Regions from separate parts of the Homo sapiens genome. Here region 1 is linked to region 2. The links are contacts of gene promoters, found by promoter capture Hi-C in human tissues and cell types (Jung and others, 2019). All regions are on one chromosome and are shown on one strand. Each heading gives the region's core, a stretch centred on a gene start or on the middle of the fragment in contact. The rest is flanking DNA. Distances are from core to core; before and after follow the strand shown.

Region 1 (3,146 bases), core at 489-2,988, 310 kb before region 2:
GTAGTTCTGTTTCAGGCAGAGGTTTTTTGGCATAGGACCTGTATTCAGCTCACACTTTCCTAGGCTGGCTATGAGTAGAATGCCTCGTGGCAGTAGCTACACTCATACATAGGCATTGATCTTAGATCTGTGTAGAGTTTTAAATCATTGGCATCTTTTAGGCCTAAATTTTATATTTGCTGGATTTTTTTTTTTTTTTTTTTTGAGATGGAGTCTTGCTCTGTCACCCAGGCTGGAGTGCAGTGGTGCATCTCTGCTCACTGCAAGCTCCGCCTCCCGGGTTCACACCATTCTCCTGCCTCAGTGTCCCACGTAGCTGGGACTACAGGCACCCGCCACCACTCCCGGCTAATTTTTTGTATTTTTTCAGTAGAGACGGGGTTTCATCGTGTTAGCCAGCATGGTCTCAATCTCCTGACCTCATGATCCACCTGCCTCGGCCTCCCAAAGTGCTGGGATTACAGGCGTGAGCCACCACACCCAGCCTGGAATTTTTTTAAAGCAGTAAATGTAAACGCTAACTTTAGAAAATATTAATAATATGATTAATTTTAGCCAGAATAAAATAATTTGCCATCTTTATAGAAATCTGGCCACGTAGGAATTAGCATTCTTAAAATTGGCACTGAAGCCAGAAGATGGATAGTGAAATTGGTCACATGCATAGACAGCTACCAAGTCCAGTGTTTAATGGTGCCCAGTGAAGAGGATTGAAGCACACACCAGAGAAGCAGCTGTAACTGGGTCAGAAGAAAAGTGTCAGGCTGAGACTTAGTTTTAGGTAGAAAAATGAGCTGCTTGCCTCTACATTCATTATTGGCTCATCTCATAAACTCAAATGAGGGGATCAGAAGCTGGCAGAAGGGACGGACTCATGCTTGTTGATCCGGATGACCTCTGTTTCAAGGTTCCAGCAATGAGTTAGCTTACATTTTACAAGGTCTCCCAAAGTGAAATGTAGTAGTCTTTACTTAGTGACAGACTAATTTACAACTATGTAATTCTTTTAAGTTTGTAATTAAAATTTCTTCTGAATTATTAATGGCTTTATTGACATGATGTTAATAAAGCCTCTCATCTTGCTGTTAAGTATTGTAGTGAGAAAATCAGCTGACCTGGAAACCATGGGGATTGGTTCTAATGAGCCATAAATGCTTCCCCTCTTCCTTCAGCACTAGTAGACTACCAGCTTTAGGCATTTAACCAAACGAATTGGAGACAGAAAATATTAAAATCCAGCCATCCTATATCAGATGATGAACTCATTTCCAGACTAACTACCCAAGAAAGCAAGTTAAACACTGTAAAAGCCTAAAACGGGGCAAGTTGGGATTAGCTTTTAAAATGCCTGCCTTGAAAAACACATTATTCTGTGAGGTTTTTTTTTTTTCTTTAAAGTTGTGCAAATTTGATTCGGAAAAATAGCTTAATAGGTTTGTATAGGGCACGGGAGAAGGGGTTGTGTGCATAAATGTATGATGATTATTTTAAGTGTGTGCTTCAGCAGCGACAACAAACAGATGAAGATACGTGATACTGACTAAACAGGCAAGAGTATTTTCTAGTCTCAGTTCTTCTAGTCAATGCCTAAAGTATTAGAAAAAGTACTGAAACAATTCCCAAAGCATCAGGAATTTCCATTTCTAGTCAAAATATTGTTTGTTTTCTTCCAACAGTTCTGTTAAATAAAAGGAAAAGTTATAAAGTTTTAGAGATATATTTAATGTCACAGGTTAATAATGTGTGTATAGAAGCCTTCTCTAACCTTGTTTGTAAATCTACCAAACCTCACCTCAAACAGTGTTCTCCTTAAACCCATCCTTTTTGTGCAAAGCTACTGCTTCCTGATGTCCATAACTCAAGGCATTTTTTTTTTCGCTTGGTGTAGTTTCTGAAATGTGATTATTTAATGTTTGCCAAGATGTTTGGAATAGAGTAACTTTCAACTAATCAATTGATTGTGACTTTCTTCTTTTGTAGTTTTTGTTTTTAAAATTGCTTTCTGTCAAACCCATCTATAATTCCCCCAGAATATATTTATATGGACTAAGGCTTACCAAAAATAAGGAAAATCGGAGAAACTGCCACCGCCAGGAGGAGCCAAGGGGACATGATGACTAAATGTAATCTGGTTTCATGGAGGGGCTACCTAGAAAAAAGACATTAAGGGAAGACTAAGGAAACTTGAATAAAGTATGGGCTCTCCTTAATAATAGTGTAACAAATTCATTGTAACAAATGCCCCATACTAACGTAAGATGTGAATAATCAGGGAAACTGGATGTGGGACATATGGGAACTCCACTATCTTCAAAATTTTTCTGTAAATGTAGAACTGTTCTAAAACAATAAAGACTATAAAAAAATAATAAAGACTATTAGAAAAAAAAAAAGGCTGGGCTTATGCTTGTAATCCCAAGACTTTGGGAGGCCAAGGCAGGAAGATCACTTGAGGGCAGAAATTTGACCAGCCTGGGCAACATAGTAAGACCTCAACTCTACAACAACAACAACAACAACAATAAAATAGCCAGGCATGGTGGTGCACACCTATACTCCCAGCTACTTGGGAGGCTGAGGTGGGAGGATCAGCTGAGCCCCAGAAGTCAAGGCTGCAGTGAGTTGTGAATGCACAACTGCACTTCAGACTGGTTGACAGAGATCCTGTCTCAATTTAAAAAAAAAAAAAAAAAAAAAAAAAGGCTGGGCATGATGGCTCACACCTATAATCCCAGCACTTTGGGATTAGTGCTGGGATTGAGGCAGGCAGATCACCTGAGGTCGTGAGTTTAAGAACAGCCTGACCAACATGGAGAAACCCCATCTCTACTAAAAATACAAACTTAGCTGGGCATGGTGGCTCATGGCTCATACCTGTAATCCCAGCTACTCAGGAGGCTGAGGCAGGAGAATCTCTTGAACCCGGGAGGCAGAGGTTGCAGTGAGCCGAGATTGCACCATTGCACTCCAGCCTGGACAACAAGAGTGAAACTCCGTCTCAAAAAAAAAAAAAAAAAAAAAAAAAAAAAAACCCGGCCGGGCACAGTGGCTCATGCCTGTAATCCCAGCACTTTGGGAGGCTGAGGCAGGCAGATCACCTGAGGTCAGGCGTTTGAGACCAGCCTGGCCAACATGGTGAAACCTCG
Region 2 (3,195 bases), core at 540-3,039:
TTGCAGGAGGTTGGAGCTTCCCGAGAGGGGTTCCAGCTTAGTTTGAGAAAGTTGGGAAAAAGAGCCACACAGGTGAGGACCTCAGGGGAGAGTGAGCCCAGGGAATGGGACAAAGGGGTGAGTTGGCAAAGCAGCCCAGCCCTAGGGCCACCCCTTCCAACTCAGGGCCCCCATCCAGCCCGCTCCACCCTGGGCTCACAATTACCTCGCTTTTCCAGAGAAGGGAGGAGAGGGAGAGAGGAAGGCAGGGGTGTGCCTGTCTGCTGCTGTCCCCGCTCCCTTCTGCAGGCCCCTTCCCTTCCAGACAGGAAACCAGCCCCGATTCCGAGCCAGCTGCAGCCTAGCGCCCCCGCCTCCACGCCAGGCCCACGGAGTCACACTTCACTCGGCGGCCGCCAGGCCCTGCGGCTCCGCCCCAGCTCCTCCGAGCTGTCCCCGAAGGCCGGGCTAATCCCAGGGGCGGCCCCAGCTCACAGGCCCCTCCCCCTGGTCCCGGGCCTCGCCCCTTACTCCCCCACGCTGGCCCCACGCGGGTTCCTCGGGCCCAGTCGCTTGGGGGCAAGGGGACGCGACAAAGGCCCCCTCTCCCCAGGTCCACTAGCTTCTGAGTCAGAGAAGGCCCGGGACGCCGGGACAAGGGTGTGAAAGAGCCTCTTTGTTCTGGGCAGGCTGGAGGGAAAGGGCAGAAGCCAGGCCTGGAATCCCAGCCGGGAGGTAGAGGGGGCGGAAGGAAGGCCCACCTCACTTAACCCTTTCCAGACCCGGAAGGGAAGGCTTGGAACTGGGCTCTCCTTGGGCGAGTGTGAGTCTGACCTTGGGGACAGAAGAGTCTTCGGGGTAGCTATTCGCCCTCTCAGTCCCCGCTCAACCACACACCTTCAGCCCCGCCCTAGCCCTTAGGGCGTTACAGGTGGGGATCCAACAGGTTAACGCGTGGACGGCGGACGGGGGAAACGCTCAGCCTAGGGGCTGGACTCCTCTTAGGCCCCAGAAAAGGAGGCGGAAATTTTGCGTGTGGGAAGTAACCCCAAGGAGTTAAAAGCCCTGCAGGGGCATAGAGGAGCCTTTGAATTGGGCTTCGGGGAAGCGAGCGGCCCCGGCCTAAAGTCGGGGTTGATGACAGAGGCTGGCCCAGATGGCTGCGACAGGTTGTGGGATGGGGCTGGCGACTGGGGAACAAGCGGGAGCCCAGGCCAAGAGTCCGAGCGCTTGGGGCCCGCCTAGCTGCCCACCGCCCTTGGCCCGGGGATGCCCAAGACATTTTGGGGTTCAGGCACATTTTAGGAGTCGAGCTGGGGCCCTACAAATTGAGACCAACCCGGGCTTTTTCCAGGCTCAGGCAGATAATCCTAACCAGGCCGCGGAATGGGCAGCATGGATCCGATGAAAATGCAGACCGTCCACACCTTACTTTTTAAGTCAACAACTCCGTCGGGTTTGTACCCAGACCGTGCGTCTCCGCCCCTCGGCGTGCACGCGGGCGAGGGAAGGAGGCCGAGGTGGCTGGGGCTGCCCCCGGGAGCCGCGGAAGGGGAAGGCAGGGACGCGAGTCTCTCACCTCGGGCAGGTCGCTGAAGAGGCTGAGTCGGAAGCGGCCGCGTTTGAACTCCATCTCCAGGGCGGAGCCCCTGGCCACGGTGACCCGGCTCCGGTGGTTTCGGGAGAACATGCTGGCGGCCCTGCGACTTTGCCTGCTCAGTGCGCTCCCCGCGCCGCCCGGCTTAGCCTCCTCTCCTCGGCTTCTGTCTCTCGACGCTCGTCCGCCAGTCCGGCCGGGAATCTCCCGCTGCGGGGCTCCAAACCCCGCCCCCGGAGACGACACCTGGGCCGGGCAGGGCGCGGCAACCTCCTCTTCCACCCCCGCCAAAGGCCCAGCCCGTCCGGCCAGTCCCTGGGCGCCAAGCCGACCTGGCCCGACGGCCCCGGAGCCCCCAGGGGCGCACTGCACCTCGCGAGCACTGTGGGAGCGCGTTCTCCCTGCCCGCGCGGGTCGCGAGCGCCTACCTGGACTTGGGACGGACCGAGAAGCCCTGCCCCGCCAGCCGCCCCAACCTGGCAAGCCTGGCTTCCCGGGCGCTGAAAACCCCGTGGCTCAGGGATCGCCGCGTAGCACGCTCTGGCTCTACTCGGGCCCTGGGACCTTGCCCAGTTTCAATCCCGGCAGCCTCCGAAGAGACCATTTCAACATCCCACAGTCCCAAATGTTCCTTCTTCGTCCCCCTCCCCACCTAGGCTCCTCTGCGAGGCTATCCGCCTAAGCCTAGTGGCCACAACTGATGGGGCGGTGCTTAAACACGTCGTGAAACCCCAGCTCTGTCACTAACTAACCGTGCAATCATTAACTTGGTCCAGTCACTGGCCTTTCTGAGCTTCAGTTTTCTCATTTGTTCAGTGGGAATACTGTAATTATCTCCACTCCTCAAGTTGCTATGAGGATTACCTATAAGAATGAGGGTAAAATGCCCAGCATAGTGCCTGGCACAAGGCAAGTGCCCCATATTTGCAGTCATAAAGAGCAGCTGCGCGCGGTGGCTCACGCCTGTAATCGCAGCACTTTGGGAGGCCTAGGAGGGTGGATCACCTGAGGTTGGGAGTTCGAGACCAGCCTGACCAACATGGAGAAACCCCATCTCTACTAAAAATACAAAATTTAGCCGGCCATGGTGGCACATGCCGGTAATCCCAACTACTTGAGAGGCTGAGGCAGGAGAATCGCTTAAACCCGGGAAGCAGAGGTTGTGGTGAGCTGAGACCCCACCATTGCACTCCACCCTTGGAAACAAGAGCGAAACTACGTCTAAAAAAAAGATGGCTGGGTGCAGTGGCTCAAGCCTGTAATCCTAGCACTTTGGGAGGCCAAGGGGGACTGATCGCTCTTGAGCTCAGGAGTTGGAGACCAGCCTGGGCAACATGAAACCCTGTCTCAACAAAACACACACACACACGCACACACACACACAAATTGGCCTGGCATGGTGGTGCACACCTGTAGTCCCAGCTACTCGGGAGGCTAAGGTGGGAGGATTGCTTGAGCCCGAAAGTTCAAGTCCAGCCTGGGCAACATAGTGGGACCCCATCTCTTAAAAAGCATTACAAATATGTATAATTTTTTATTTTTATTTATTTATTTATTTATTTATTTTAATTTTTTTTTTTTAAGACAGAGTCTCACTCTGTCACCCAGGCTGGAGTGCA

Evidence for each region. Contacts are between HindIII fragments. The study calls those that stand out against the background at their distance.
Region 1: a fragment that was not itself captured here is called in contact with the fragment with the promoter of RTKN in region 2 in 1 of the 25 tissues and cell types used here (thymus).

Annotation. Positions count from the first base shown.
Region 1 is chr2:74,126,317-74,129,462 of GRCh38, forward strand. It overlaps a transcript of TET3 not described here. Among named protein-coding and RNA genes, the nearest start is that of BOLA3, 20 kb to the right of the region's middle. The HindIII fragment of the contact is 4,351 bases long and covers 1-3,146 here.
Region 2 is chr2:74,440,148-74,443,342 of GRCh38, forward strand. It overlaps RTKN (rhotekin), which reads right to left and starts at 1,790. Exons shown (of 12, transcript NM_001015055.2): 1 at 1,559-1,790. The coding sequence starts at 1,669. RefSeq lists silencers at 406-715, 1,431-1,490, 1,801-1,880. The HindIII fragment of the contact is 13,295 bases long and covers 1-3,195 here.